Linked DNA regions of Homo sapiens: regions 1 and 3 are each linked to region 2. The links are contacts of gene promoters, found by promoter capture Hi-C in human tissues and cell types (Jung and others, 2019). All regions are on one chromosome and are shown on one strand. The core of a region is centred on a gene start or on the middle of the fragment in contact, and the rest is flanking DNA. Distances in the headings are between cores, read along the strand shown. Region 1 overlaps STAT3 (signal transducer and activator of transcription 3). Region 2 holds the start of NAGLU (N-acetyl-alpha-glucosaminidase). Region 3 overlaps STAT5A (signal transducer and activator of transcription 5A).

The links. The method cuts DNA at HindIII sites, captures the fragments that hold promoters and counts their contacts. A contact is called where the count stands out against the background at its distance.
Region 1: a fragment that was not itself captured here is called in contact with the fragment with the promoter of NAGLU in region 2 in 2 of the 25 tissues and cell types used here (IMR-90 fibroblasts and adrenal gland).
Region 3: a fragment that was not itself captured here is called in contact with the fragment with the promoter of NAGLU in region 2 in 1 of the 25 tissues and cell types used here (thymus).

Annotation. Positions count from the first base shown.
Region 1 is chr17:42,337,837-42,342,514 of GRCh38, forward strand. It overlaps STAT3 (signal transducer and activator of transcription 3), which reads right to left. Exons shown (of 24, transcript NM_139276.3): 5 at 1,478-1,573; 6 at 895-976; 7 at 1-21. Among named protein-coding and RNA genes, the nearest start is that of STAT3, 48 kb to the right of the region's middle. RefSeq lists a silencer at 1-17. The HindIII fragment of the contact is 7,087 bases long and covers 1-4,678 here.
Region 2 is chr17:42,533,239-42,537,490 of GRCh38, forward strand. It overlaps NAGLU (N-acetyl-alpha-glucosaminidase), which reads left to right and starts at 3,003. Exons shown (of 6, transcript NM_000263.4): 1 at 3,003-3,417; 2 at 4,160-4,252. The coding sequence starts at 3,035. It also overlaps the pseudogene PTP4A2P1. RefSeq lists enhancers at 2,716-2,795, 3,309-4,046 and silencers at 2,906-3,315, 3,436-3,505. The HindIII fragment of the contact is 7,033 bases long and covers 1-4,093 here.
Region 3 is chr17:42,293,656-42,298,389 of GRCh38, forward strand. STAT5A (signal transducer and activator of transcription 5A) reads left to right here. Exons shown (of 19, transcript NM_001288718.2): 5 at 1,964-2,138. Among named protein-coding and RNA genes, the nearest start is that of STAT5A, 7.5 kb to the left of the region's middle. The HindIII fragment of the contact is 8,359 bases long and covers 1-4,734 here.

The sequences.
Region 1 (4,678 bases), core at 1-2,500, 200 kb before region 2:
TTCCATTCAGATCTTGCATGTCTGCGAAGGAAGAAAAAACTCCTTGACCTGAGGGAATACTCCTTGACCTGAGGGAATACTCCTTGACCTGAGGGAATACTCCTGGACCTGAGGGAATACTCCTGGACCTGAGGGAATACTCCTGGACCTGAGGGAATACTCCTTGACCTGAGGGAATACTCCTGGACCTGAGGGAATACTCCTGGACCTGAGGGAATACTCCTGGACCTGAGGGAATACTCCTGGACCTGAGGGAATACTCCTGGACCTGAGGGAATACTCCTGGACCTGAGGGAATACTCCTGGACCTGAGGGAATACTCCTGGACCTGAGGGAATACTCCTTGACCTGAGGGAATACTCCTGGACCTGAGGGAATACTCCTGGACCTGAGGGAATACTCCTGGACCTGAGGGAATACTCCTTGACCTGAGGGAATACTCCTGGACCTGAGGGAATACTCCTGGACCTGAGGGAATACTCCTGGACCTGAGGGAATACTCCTGGACCTGAGGGAATACTCCTGGACCTGAGGGAATACTCCTTGACCTGAGGGAATACTCCTGGACCTGAGGGAATACTCCTGGACCTGAGGGAATACTCCTGGACCTGAGGGAATACTCCTGGACCTGAGGGAATACTCCTGGACCTGAGGGAATACTCCTTGACCTGAGGGAATACTCCTTGACCTGAGGGAATACTCCTGGACCTGAGGGAATACTCCTGGACCTGAGGGAATACTCCTGTCCTTAATGACCAGGCTCCTTTGAGGACCCGTACCTCCCTTGCGCCCCGCCCGCCTTAAGATCTAAACAGAGTTAAGACAAATGAGTCTTTCAACTCAACAACACAAACTCACTTTCTAGAGATTTTAACATCTCTAATATTCACTTGCCTCCTTGACTCTTGAGGGTTTTATAGTTGAAATCAAAGTCATCCTGGAGATTCTCTACCACTTTCATTTTCTGTTCTAGATCCTGTTTAAAATAAGCAAACAAAAAAACAGAAGTAAAGAAAGATTTCCTTGGGAACAGAAAATATAAAGTTTCTGAGGAGAATTCAAATGAAGCCAAAACCTCAAAAAAGATACATGCAGGACCTGCAGGCAGTATCCCCAAGAGAAGGCTCCCTGTTGGCCAGGTGCAGTGGCTCACGCCTGTAATGCCAGCACTTTGAGAGGCTGAGTTGGGAGGATCACTTGAGCCCAGGAGTTCATGATCAGCCTGGACAACACAGGGAGACCCCCATCTCTACAAATTTTTTTTTTTTAATTAGCTGGGCGTGGTGGTGCATGCCTGTGGTCCCGGCTACTTGGGAGGATGAGGTAGGAGGATCGCTTGGGCCTGAGAGGTCGAGGCTGCAGTGAGCTGTGATCATGCCACTGCAGCCCAGCCTGAGTGGCAGAGCAAGACCCTGTCTCAAAAAAAAAAAAAAAAATTAATGAAAGCTCCCTGCCCGAGGCTTGTAACTTGCATCACCTGCACTCTCTTCCGGACATCCTGAAGGTGCTGCTCCAGCATCTGCTGCTTCTCCGTCACCACGGCTGCTGTGGGGTGGTTGGCCTGGCCCCCTTGCTGCCAAAAAGGAGGTCAATGCACATGTGAACACAGAACTATGGGGAGAGGAATACCTCTACCCAGCTTCCATCCCACCCTAACTACCCTTCTTGTTTGGCTTGAGACGCTGCTGCCATCACAAGAGGAAGGGAAACAGAGGCAGTGGTGCTGTCACTACACAGGTGACACTACACAGGTCATACCATAAACCCCCTTTATGGCACTAAGAGACCACATGTTCAGCTAAGACATGGTCTATGCCTTCAAAAACCTCATGGGCAAGTATGTCAAAAAATTCAAAACAATTTATGACAGCAGATGTTGGATGTCTACTTAAACGTGGTGTCCAGTATATTTCTGAGGGATAATAAAAAAAAAGTCCTGCCCTAGGGATGAAATTCCATATTAAAAGATATTATCTTGGGGAGAAGGGGAGGCTGGTACCTTGGAAAATGTCAAATAGCACATGGAAAAAGAAAAAGAAGAAAGAAGGCTGGATGTAGCAGCTCACACCTATAATATCAGCACTTGGGAAGGCTGAAGTGGGAGGACTGCTTGAGGCCAGGAGTTCAAAACTAGCCTAGTCAACATAGTGAGGCCCCATCTCGAATGAATAAATGAATGAATGAATTAAAGAAATAACAAAAAATAAATAGCATATGAAACTTAAAAATTACAGGTTCGTGCCAGGTGCGGTGGCTGATGCCTGTAATCCCAGCACTTTGGGAGGCCAAGGTGGGCAGATTACCTGAGGTCAGGAGTTTGAGACCAGCCTGACCGACACGGAGAAACCCATCTCTACTAAAAATACAAAGTTAGCTGAGCTTGGTGGTGCATGCCTGTAATCCCAGCTACTCGGGAGGCTGAGGAAGGAGAATCGCCTGAACCCGGGAGGTGGAGGTTGTGGTGAGCCAAGACTGCGCCATGCACTCCAGCCTGAGCAACAAAAGTGAAACTCCATCTCAAAAAAAAAAAAAAAAAATTACAGGCTTGGGCTAGGCATGGTAGCTCCCACCTATAATCCTAGCACTTTGGGAAACCAAGGCAGGAGGATCACTTGAGGCTGGGAGTTTGAGACCGGCCCAGGGAACATAGAAAGAGACCTCATCTCAACCAAAAAAAAAAAAAAATTTTTTTTTAACTAGCTGGGCATGGTGGCATATACCTGTAGTTCTAGCTACTTGGGAGGCTGAGGTGGGAGGATCATTTAAGTCCAGAAGTTTGAGGCCACACTACAGCCAGTTTTATGGGCAACCATTCTCTTCCTTTCCCATGGTCCCTATCCAAGCCCACAGAATACAAACTTCTTAGAAGTTTTGGGAAGGTGACCCATGCCCCTACTTCTTCCCACAGTGACAGTGACTCATCTGATTGGTAAGATGGAGAGAAAGACTCTGTGTACACACAGATCTTCAAAGAACCCAGCACCTAAGCTGGTGCCTCCCTCCTCTCACTCTTGCCTTCCTAGGGCCCACCATAAGCAAGAGCAGCAGCCTGGTTTCTAGAAGCAGGTCTAGAGGCCTATCCCTCTGCCTTGTTGGTCTATGGCAGCTGAAGCTCCATATGGATGGCTGGGGTGGGGTGGGGGTGCTGCTCTGCACATCCAGTCTCTCTACCCCAAGATCTAACTCAGGGCACAGGCATTGGAAAGCCCCTATGGTTACCAGCTCAAGCCACACTTTCCATTCTAGTTTTACCAACAATACAGCTGATGTTTTAACCTTCATTCCTTTCTCATGTCTATTTCTCAAGCAGGACTACACTTAAAGGGAGAAAACATGATTAACGATCACCCACAGAAACCCACCTCTAATACCTTCGTAAAAAACTGTATTGGCTCCCCACTGCTTCCAGCTATAAACATCTCAGGCCAACACAGAAAGCTGTTTCACACAATTGATAACTTCAACTTTCCCTCCCTGTGCCTTGGTCACCCCAGACTCCCAACTCTTCCCTGCATGCAGTGTGTTTCCACACTCTCTTCCCACCCGCTATCCACTCAGCATGGCCTGGGCTTCAGCCCAAACACACCTGAACTCACTCACCTTCAAATTCAGTTCAAATGTTTCTTTTCCTGAGAAATCTTATTCAACTTCCTTAGACAAAATGACACACATCCTTTTCTGTGTTTTTCTCACTTTGAGTGTTTGTGTACTTATAATCCCAACTAGCCTGACAGCCCTTGGTAGCAGGGATTACATCCACTCTTCTATCTTTAACCAATTCTAGACACTTAAGAGCATGCCAGGTATTGTAAACAGAAAAAATAGCAGTGAGGCCTGGGTTGAGGCCACAAATAACCAACTTATAGCTTTATATCAGGGGTTGCAAACTTTTTCTCTAAGGGACAGAGGGTAAATATTTTTGGTTTCCTGGGTCATACAGTCCCTGCCACAAATAGCCCTGCCACTGCAGCACCAAAGCAGCCACAGATAATGCATAAATAAATGAGTGTGGCTGGGTTCCGAAAAAACCTCATTTACAAAAACAAGCAGCAGGCTGGATTTGGGCCACGCTCACAGTTTGCAGACCCCTAATCCGTACGATTGAAAACATCCTTGGGATAACTTTGGCTTTCCTACCTCCCATGGTAAGTTGGAGCCTCTATCCAAATTGACTTAAACCACTTATTTTTATCTTGTGGAGCAGGATAAAATACAAAGGTTTTCCACAGCAGAAAATCCTAGTGCTGCCTGAGCAAATGCCTGTGTGCTAACCTCTTGGGCTACAGGGCACTGCACAGTAAGTGTTACCTACCACCTCGCTCACACCTGAGCATATCAGTTTTCTGCTTAAAATTCCTCACTAGGGCCGGACACAGTGGCTTATGCCTGTAATCCCAGCACTTTGGGAGGCCGAGGTGGATGGATCACCTGAGGTCAGGAGTTTGAGACCAGCCTGGCCAATATGGTGAAACCCTATCTCACTAAAAATACAAAAAATTAGCCCAGTGTGGTGGCTCATGCCTGTAATCCCAGCTACTTGGGAAGCTGAGACATGAGAATCGCTTGAACCTGAGAGGCAGAGGTTGCAGTGGGCCGAAATCGCGTCACTGCACTCCGGCCTGGGTGACAGAGTGAGACTCTGTCTCAAAAGAAAAAAAAAAAATTCTTCACTGGGTCC
Region 2 (4,252 bases), core at 1,753-4,252:
TAAAGGCTGCTTCAGTTTTGTATGTAGTTGGGTTTTTTGGAGTCCGAAGGTATCCATCTGCAGAAATTGAGGCCCAAATTGAATTTGGATTCAAGTGGATTCTAAATACTTTGCTTATCTTGAAGAGAGAAGCTTCATAAGGAATAAACAAGTTGAATAGAGAAAACACTGATTGATAATAGGCATTTTCATGGTCTTTTTAATGTTTTCTGTTGTTAAACATTTCAAGATTTATTGATTTTTTTTTTCACTTTCCCCATCACACTCACAGGCACGCTCACACTTTTTATTTGCCGTAATGAACCGTCTAGCCCCTGTGGAGATCTCCTATGAGAACATGTGTTTTCTGATAACTCACAACCCTACCAATGCTACTCTCAACAAGTTCACAGAGGAACTTAAGAAGTATGGAGTGACGACTTCGGTTTGAGTTTGTGATGCTACATATGATAAAGCTCCAGTTGAAAAAGAAGGAATCCACGTTCTAGATTGGCCATTTGATGATGGAGCTCCATCCCCTAATCAGATAGTAGATGATTGGTTAAACCTGTTAAACACCAAATTTCGTGAAGAGCCAGGTTGCTGTGTTGCAGTGCATTGCGTTGTGGAATTGGGAAGGGCACCTGTGCTGGTTGCACTTGCTTTGATTGAATGTGGAATGAAGTACGTAGATGCAGTTCAGTTTATAAGACAAAAAAGAAGGGGAGTGTTAAATTCCAAACAGCTGCTTTACTTAAGATGCGATTACGCTTCAGAGATACCAATGGGCATTGCTGTGTTCAGCAGAAAGAAATGTAAATGAAGGCTGACTTGATTGTGGCATTTAGAGGGAACTCCTGGTACCTGGAAATGTGAATCTGGACTCTTACCTGTGTCATCAAAGTAGTGATGGATTCAATACTCCTCAACCACTCTCCTAATGATCAGAACAAAAGCAAACAAGAAATCTCTCTATAAAATGAATAAAATGTTTAAGAAAAAAAAAGAGTTCGAGACCAGCCTGGACAACATGGTGAAATCCCATCCCTACAAAGGTTAACTGGGCTTGGTGGCACGTGCCTGTAATCCCAGCTACTCAGGAGACTGAGACAGGAGAATGGCTTGAACCTGGGTGGCTGAGGTTCCCGTGAGCTGAGATTAAAAAAAAAAATCATACTTCCCTAGTATCTAAAGTTGATATCTGATTCCAGGCCTCTTTCAACTTTTTTTGTTTGTTTGTTTGTTTTTTTGATATGGAGTCTCGCTCTGTCATCCAGGCTGGAATGCAAATGGCACGATCTTGGCTCACTGCAACTTCCACCTCCAGCGTTCAAGCGATTCTCCTGCCTCAGCTTCCCAAGTAGCTGGGACTACAGGCGTGTGCCACCAAGCCTGGCTAACTTTTTTTCTTTTTTTTTTTTTTGAGAGGGAGTCTTGCTCTGTCCCCCAGGCTGGAGTGCAGTGGTGTGATCTTGGCTCACTGCAACCTCCGCCTCTCCGGTTCACGCCATTCTCCTGCCTTAGCCTCCCGAGTAGCTGGGAGTACAGGCGCTCGCCAACACGCCCGGCTAATTTTTTGTATTTTTAGTAGAGATGGAGTTTCACCGTGTTAGCCAGGAGGGTCTTGATCTCCTGACCTCGTATCCGCCCGTCTTGGCCTCCCAAAGTGCTGGGATTACAGGCGTGAGCCACCGCGCCCAGCACCTGGCTAACTTTTGTATTTTTAGTACAGACGGGGTTTCACTGTATGTTGGCCAGGCTGGTCTCAAACCCCTGACTTGAGGTGATCTGCAAGCCTCAGCCTCCCAGAGTGCTGGGATTACAGGCGTAAGCCACCGCTCCTGGCCTAAGGTTGGCTATTTTTATGGTTATTTCTTGATTATATGATAAACAAGGGGTGGGTTAGTAATGAATTTTTCAGAAAAGGGGTGGGGATCCCCCCCAACTGAAGGTTCCTCCACTGTTTAGACCATATAGGGTAACTTCTGGACGTTGCCATGGCATTTGTAAACTGCCTGGCGCTGCTAGGAGTGTCTTTAGCATACTAATGCATTATAATTAGCGTATAATGAGCAGTGAGGACGATCAGAGGTCACCTTCCTGTCTTGGTTTTGGCAGGTTTTGACCAGTTTCTTTGCTGCATTCTGTTTTATCAGCGGGGTCTTGTGACCTTTTATCTTGTGCTGACCTCCTGTCTCATCCTGTGACGAAGGCCTAACCTCCTGGGAATTCAGCCCAGCAGGTCTCTGCCTCATTTTACCCAGCCCCTGTTCAAGATGGAGTCGCTCTGGTTGGAAACTTCTGACAAAATGACAGCTCCTGTTATGTTGCTGCTGCTGCCGCCAATGGACAGCCTTTAACGTGCCCGCCAGCCCTGCTCCACCGCCGGCCTGGGCTCACATGGCCCCATCCCTCCTCGAACCTCCTAGCCTGTTAGTTACTCAAATCTGCAAGCTCTCTGCCTTCTCAGGGCCTTCAATAAATGCATTTCTTCTGTCTGGAAGGCTCTTCCTTTCCCTCTTCTAGCCAATTCCTATTCATCCCTGAGTTTCAGATTAAAAGTCACTTCCTTTGGAAACCTTACTTCGCTACTTCGCTACTTACTGCACTACTTCGCAGCATCACAACTATGATGGAAATCCTTACTTACGTTAAATATCTGGTTTCTAGGTCACCTCCCTGACGGGGACGGTAGGGACCGTCTTCTCGTTCATCAGTAGGGAAGTAGCTATGGCAGTGCCTGATACAAAATAAACTCCAAATGTGTATTTATTAGATGGTTGGATGGAAGTTATTTGCGTGTGAAAGCGCGTTTTACCCGAAGGCGCTCTGTGAGGGCCAGCGGGTCCCCTTCGGCCCTGGAGCCGGGGTCACACGCTCCCCACCGCGTGCGGTCACGAGACGCCCCCAAGGGAGTATCCTGGTACCCGGAAGCCGCGACTCCTGGCCCTGAGCCCGGGCTTAGCCTTCGGGTCCACGTGGCCGGAGGCCGGCAGCTGATTGGACGCGGGCCGCCCCACCCCCTGGCCGTCGCGGGACCCGCAGGACTGAGACCATGGAGGCGGTGGCGGTGGCCGCGGCGGTGGGGGTCCTTCTCCTGGCCGGGGCCGGGGGCGCGGCAGGCGACGAGGCCCGGGAGGCGGCGGCCGTGCGGGCGCTCGTGGCCCGGCTGCTGGGGCCAGGCCCCGCGGCCGACTTCTCCGTGTCGGTGGAGCGCGCTCTGGCTGCCAAGCCGGGCTTGGACACCTACAGCCTGGGCGGCGGCGGCGCGGCGCGCGTGCGGGTGCGCGGCTCCACGGGCGTGGCGGCCGCCGCGGGGCTGCACCGCTACCTGCGCGACTTCTGTGGCTGCCACGTGGCCTGGTCCGGCTCTCAGCTGCGCCTGCCGCGGCCACTGCCAGCCGTGCCGGGGGAGCTGACCGAGGCCACGCCCAACAGGTACCGCCCCGAAGCTTCCCCGCGTCCGCCCGAGGCGCTTACCCCCTCCCGGAGCCGCTGCCACCCAAATCGGGAGGCTGAGCGGGGAGCGCTGGCCGGAAGGCCCAGCTGCGCCGCCTCCAGCAGCTGTGTGGCCTTGAGCCAGCCACTCTGCCTTTCAGAGCCTCGGCTGGCCCACCTGAAAAACGGAAAGAAGACGCCTACCGTGCAGTGTTATTGTGAGGATTTGCACGATGATGGGCATAGAATTTGTGGTGCACAATTGGTGATGAGTGAATTTTCTTGCCTTCCTCCCCCACCTTCTCTTTGAACCTGCGGACTGAGGAAGGACGCCTCCATCCCCCACCCTACAGGCCTGTGTTCCAGCGCCTGCCACACTATGGAGTGATGTGTTCACACAGCTGTCCTCCCCTGCCCATCTGTTAGACTGTGGGGGCAGGGATTCCCCGTTCCAGGAAAACACCGTGCAGAGGAGGGGCTCTGGCAGTGTGGCATGAAAGTGGAATATGCCACCCAAATACCCGCCAGGCTAGAGGGCCCTGGGAGAGTGCAGGGGACGAGTGCCTCAGAAGCCCAGCCCCGGTACCTGGTCTCAGCTCCACCTGGGGTGGGTCCCAGTGTGCAGCAGAAGGGCCGAGTTTGGAGCCCCTCCCCTCTCCTCTAGGTGGGGGATGGGGGATTTGTTCCAGGGCCGTGGACCCTCCAGGGTGGGATGCGCCCCTGCTCATGACACTGCCCGCAGGTACCGCTATTACCAGAATGTGTGCACGCAAAGCTACTCTTTCGTGTGGTGGGACTGGGCCCGCTGGGAGCGAGAGATAGACTGGATGGCGCT
Region 3 (4,734 bases), core at 461-2,960, 240 kb before region 2:
CTCTAGAGATGAGCTGAGTGCTAAGGGGGCCTAGGTGGAAAAAGCACCCAACTCAGATTGGGGCAGGCTGGCAGGGGAGCGTCCTGTGGACAGGCATGTCTGAGCTACAGTGGAGAAAGGCAGGAGAGGAGGGATGAATTTTCTAATGAAAAGACAGCAGCTGCGAGAGCAGGAGGGCATGAATCTTCTTATCACATTGGAAGACTTGTAAGTGGTCAGTGTAACTGGGGAGAAGGAACCAAGTGGGGAGTTGCCATGGATAAAAATAGATAGAGAGGGCCAGGCGTGGTGGCTCACATCTGTAATCCCAGCACTTTGGGAGGCCAAGGTGGGCGGATCACCTGACGTCAGAAGTTCGAGACCAGCCTGGCCAACATGGTGAAACCCAGTCTCTACTAAAAAATACAAAAATTAGCTAGGCGTGGTGGCGGGCGCCTGTAATCCTAGCTACTCGGGCGGCTGAGGCAGGAGAATTGCTTGAACCCAGGAGGGGGATGTTGCAGTGAGCTGAGATTGCACCACTTCACTCCAGCCTGGGCAACAGAGCGAGACTCTGTATAAAAAAAAAAAAAATAGGGGTTAGAAACCAGGTCACAAAGGGTCTTCCAGCACAGCCCCTGTGTCCCTGACTTGTTGCCATCACAGAGCTATCTGCAAACCTAAAAATGACTTCAGCCTCATTGACAAATCCATGTCCATGGTGCTGGTGCTGTCATGGTCTGGGAGCTCATTCCTTCCTCCAACCATACAACTGTTCCTGAACACCCCTGGCATTCTAGGGCTTGGGGATTCTGTAGTTCACAGGAAAGGCAAGGTCCTAGCCCTTGGGAACCTCACATCCTTGTGCAGGGAGACAGACAGAAACATGTAAGCAAATACAAGAACAACACACTTTTAGATAGGACTACTGTGAATTGGCTCGTCAGAGATGACCCCTCTGCAATGGTACCAGTTAAAGTGCTTTGCCTCAGGAGGATCTGATGCCAGAATGTTCCAGACTGTTGGAACAATAAGTGCAAGGGCCCCAGGGCAGGAACATGCCTGTGTGTTCAAGGAACAGAAACAGAAAGCACACATTCCCAGCGAGCTGGGGTTGGAGGTAGGCAGGGCTATGGCCAGCAGACACCATGGGAAGGGGTTTGGATTTTATTCTGAGAACAGTTCATTGGAAAGCCTCTGAGGACTTGTTCCTCTTCATCCATGTGCTCCCTCCCTTTGTGACCTGGTTTCTACCCCTCTCTCTCTATTTTTTTTTTTTTTGAAACGGAGTCTCGCTGTGTTGCCAAGGCTAGAGTGCAGTGGCGCAATCTCGGCTCACTGCAACATCCCCCTCCTGGGTTCAAGCGATTCTCCTGAATGTGCTGAAGGAATGGCTGGATCCAAGGGGAGCTTGTTGATGCCTCCCCTCTAACTTCATTTCGGGGTCTCCAGGATGCCTGTGAGAGTTTCGGCCTCTTCCCTCTTCCTTCAGTCACAAGGGGGTCTTAAGTGAGATGGTGTGTGTTCACACAGCCCTGTTCCTCCCTATGTCCCTAGGATCTACTGCAGTCCATGGTATTGAGTCAGCAAATAAATGTAGAGCGAGGGGTCATCATCATTAGTGGGAAAACCCAGGTGACACCTGGGACGTGTTGAGTTCTAGTCCCTGGGAGGAAATTAGATGGACCCTGTTTGGAATACTCTAGTGGAGGGCAGCTCTGACATAGATATTTGGACTTTGAAGGTGTTACTATCTGCCGTTATCTGCCAGGTCACCTGTTTCTCCTTTCTCTTTCCCTTTTCTATCCCAATTCTGGCAAATGACTCCTTCTGATGCAAATGATCCTTCCTTCTTGCCCTAGTTTCCCTTCTTACCCTAGTTTGGGGTTTGGGGTTTGGGGTCTGTAGTATTGGTGTTTCCTAATGCCTGTGGTCTTCTCCCATCCTCTCTTCCCCGAGTTATTTCCATTCCATCTGTCTCCAGTGCAGCTCTCCGGCTGGGATCCTGGTTGACGCCATGTCCCAGAAGCACCTTCAGATCAACCAGACATTTGAGGAGCTGCGACTGGTCACGCAGGACACAGAGAATGAGCTGAAGAAACTGCAGCAGACTCAGGAGTACTTCATCATCCAGTACCAGGAGAGCCTGAGGATCCAAGGTGAGGCGCGGTGGAGGCAGTGTGCATCCGGAGGGTGGGAGTGAGGAACATTCTATGGACTCCTAGAGGGTAGAGCTGGGTCAGTGTCCATCTCCTCAGCACTTTGCCCAAAGCCTGGTAGAAGCAATGGCTCCCGGTGATTGAGCCCCTGCCGTGGGTCACACTTGGCACACATTATTTAATTCAACCCTCTCAACAAGCCTATGAAGTGAACAGTTGTGTTATCCCCCCTTTTGCAGATGGTAAAAGTGAGGTTCAAAGAGAACAAGTAACTTGGCCTAGGTTGCCTGTAAATTACAGAACTGGATCTCAACTAGAGATATATCATAAAACTCCTGTACTTTATTAACCAGTATTCTCTCCTTAATGGTATGTATTCTGTAAATATCGACACAAATAGGTAAATATGAACAGTGCTCCCTAACCAGAGGGAGGACTTGGATTGGAAGTCTTCTGGTTGAACCAGGCTGGGAGAGGTGGAACTTCCAAAGTGGGCCTTCTTGAGCCTCACGGATAGGATGTGGGCCTGGGGGAAGGGGTGACAGTAGAAAATTCTCCTGTATCCTAGGTCTGTAGTTCGCCAATGGCTCCCATGATAAAGATGTGGGGAAATTAAAAAATCAAATTAGCTTGAAAGGAACTATCCCCAGGTACAATTTGAGGAGTCATGGGACATGGCCCATCTATTAATATGTCCCATTCCAGACTGACCCCAGAAATGTAACACCTCATCTTAGTGAGAACAAGGGGTGTCAAACTGCTTTTTCCTTTACTCTTTTTAATCTGATTTCTTAAGGTAGACCTTAGGTCATTGATTTTAGACCTTTCTTCTTTTCTTTTCTTTCTTTTTCTTTTCTTTTTTTTGAGACAATCTTGCTCTGTCGCCCAGGCTGGAGCACAGTGGCATGATTTCGGCTCACTGCAGCCTCTGCTTCCCAGCTTCAAGAAATTCTTGTGCCTCAGTCTCCCGCATAGCTGGGACTACAGGTGCAGGCCACCACGCCCAGCTGATTTTTTTAGAATTCTATTGTAGCTATTTAAGCTCTCTTCCTAACCCTGCACTGTCAGTGCTTTGTGTACACTGAGACCAGCACAATGCCTGAATATTGCAGCTATTATGTAAATACTTGCAGGATAATTCTAAATGTTTGTTTGTTTGTTTGTTTATTTATTATTGCCCAGGCTGGAGTGCAGTGGCACGATCTCATCTCACTGCGACCTCTGCCTCTCAGGTTCAAACTATTCTCATGCCTCAGCCTCCTCAGTAGCTGGGACTACAGACATGCACCACCATGCCTGGCTAATTTTTTTTTTTTGTAGTTTTAGTAGATACAGGGTTGTGCCGTGTTGTCCAGGCTGGTTGCAACCTCTAGCCTCGAGTGATCTGCCTGCCTCGGCCTCCCAAAGTGCTAGGATTATAGGCGTGAGCCACGGTGCCCAGCCAATACTGACAGGATAATTCTAAGAGAATTTCCCCTCATCTGAATCTATCCCAGACTGGCCCTAGAAGAAGGGCAGCTCCTTCTGAGAATGGAAACGGAAGATTTTGGGCGGTTATTCCTACCCAAGTCCTTAGACTGTCGACAGTATTTCTGATCCCGTGCCTGGCTTTTCTGTTTCCTGTGCATGGTGGCGGATTAGGTTTGGATTCAGGTTGGGTTTGGATCTATCATGCAGTGTCTTCTCAGTCCCATTTGTCAAGTTCACTCAGCAGAAACACAGACTATTGATCTGCTTTTGCCAGGGAAGGCTCAGCTGCCTCCAGTGGAGTAGGGAAATTGCTTCCCGTCTCCCTGGCCTCCTTCCTAAAAGCTTCTGCAAATTTCCAGGAGAGCCCTAAGTGGGTCCCTTGCATAGGAAGGCTGGGCCCAGGTGTTGGGATCACCACCACCCTCCCTGTGGCTGGGCAGGATACCCGAGGTAGCCGTGCAGACACCTCGGATCTGTCCGTGCCTGGATGATCCTCTTCCTGCTCGATACCTGCAGTGAGATTGGAGCCATATTTCTGAGTTCTAGCTCTGGGCTGTTCCTGGCTACATAGAGTTGCTTTTGTCTGTCCCAGCTTGTGCATCCCATGGGTCAGGGCTGGGGTCAGAGTGACGTGGCCCTCAGGGGCCAGCCAGGAGCTCGACCAAGACATGCTGGTGCGCGCATCTTCTGACTCAGCTCAAGCAAGGACGCTGGGCTGTTGAGAAGGTGATGGGAAGGGATTAATAGTCCCAGTGTGGTGGAGACGGGCTGTCGCTGGGAGGGTGGGGTGGGCCTGCGGTGGTGGTTGTAACTGTGGACATGTTTACTTTCTTAGCCTGGGTTATTGATACACAGGCGCCCTTGTGTTCCACATCCCCTGTGTCTTACGTATTTCATAATGGATACTTTTTTTTTTTTGAGATGGAGTCTTGCTCTGTTGCCTTGGCTGGAGTGCAGTGGTGCTCTCGGCTCACTGCAACCTTTAACCCCGGGTTCAAGCAATTCTCCTGCCTCAGCCTCCTAAGTAGCTGGGATTACAGGCATGCGCCACCATGCCCAGCTAATTTTTGTATTTTTAGTAGAGACAGGGTCTTGCCATGTTGGCCAGGCTGGTCTCGAACTCTTG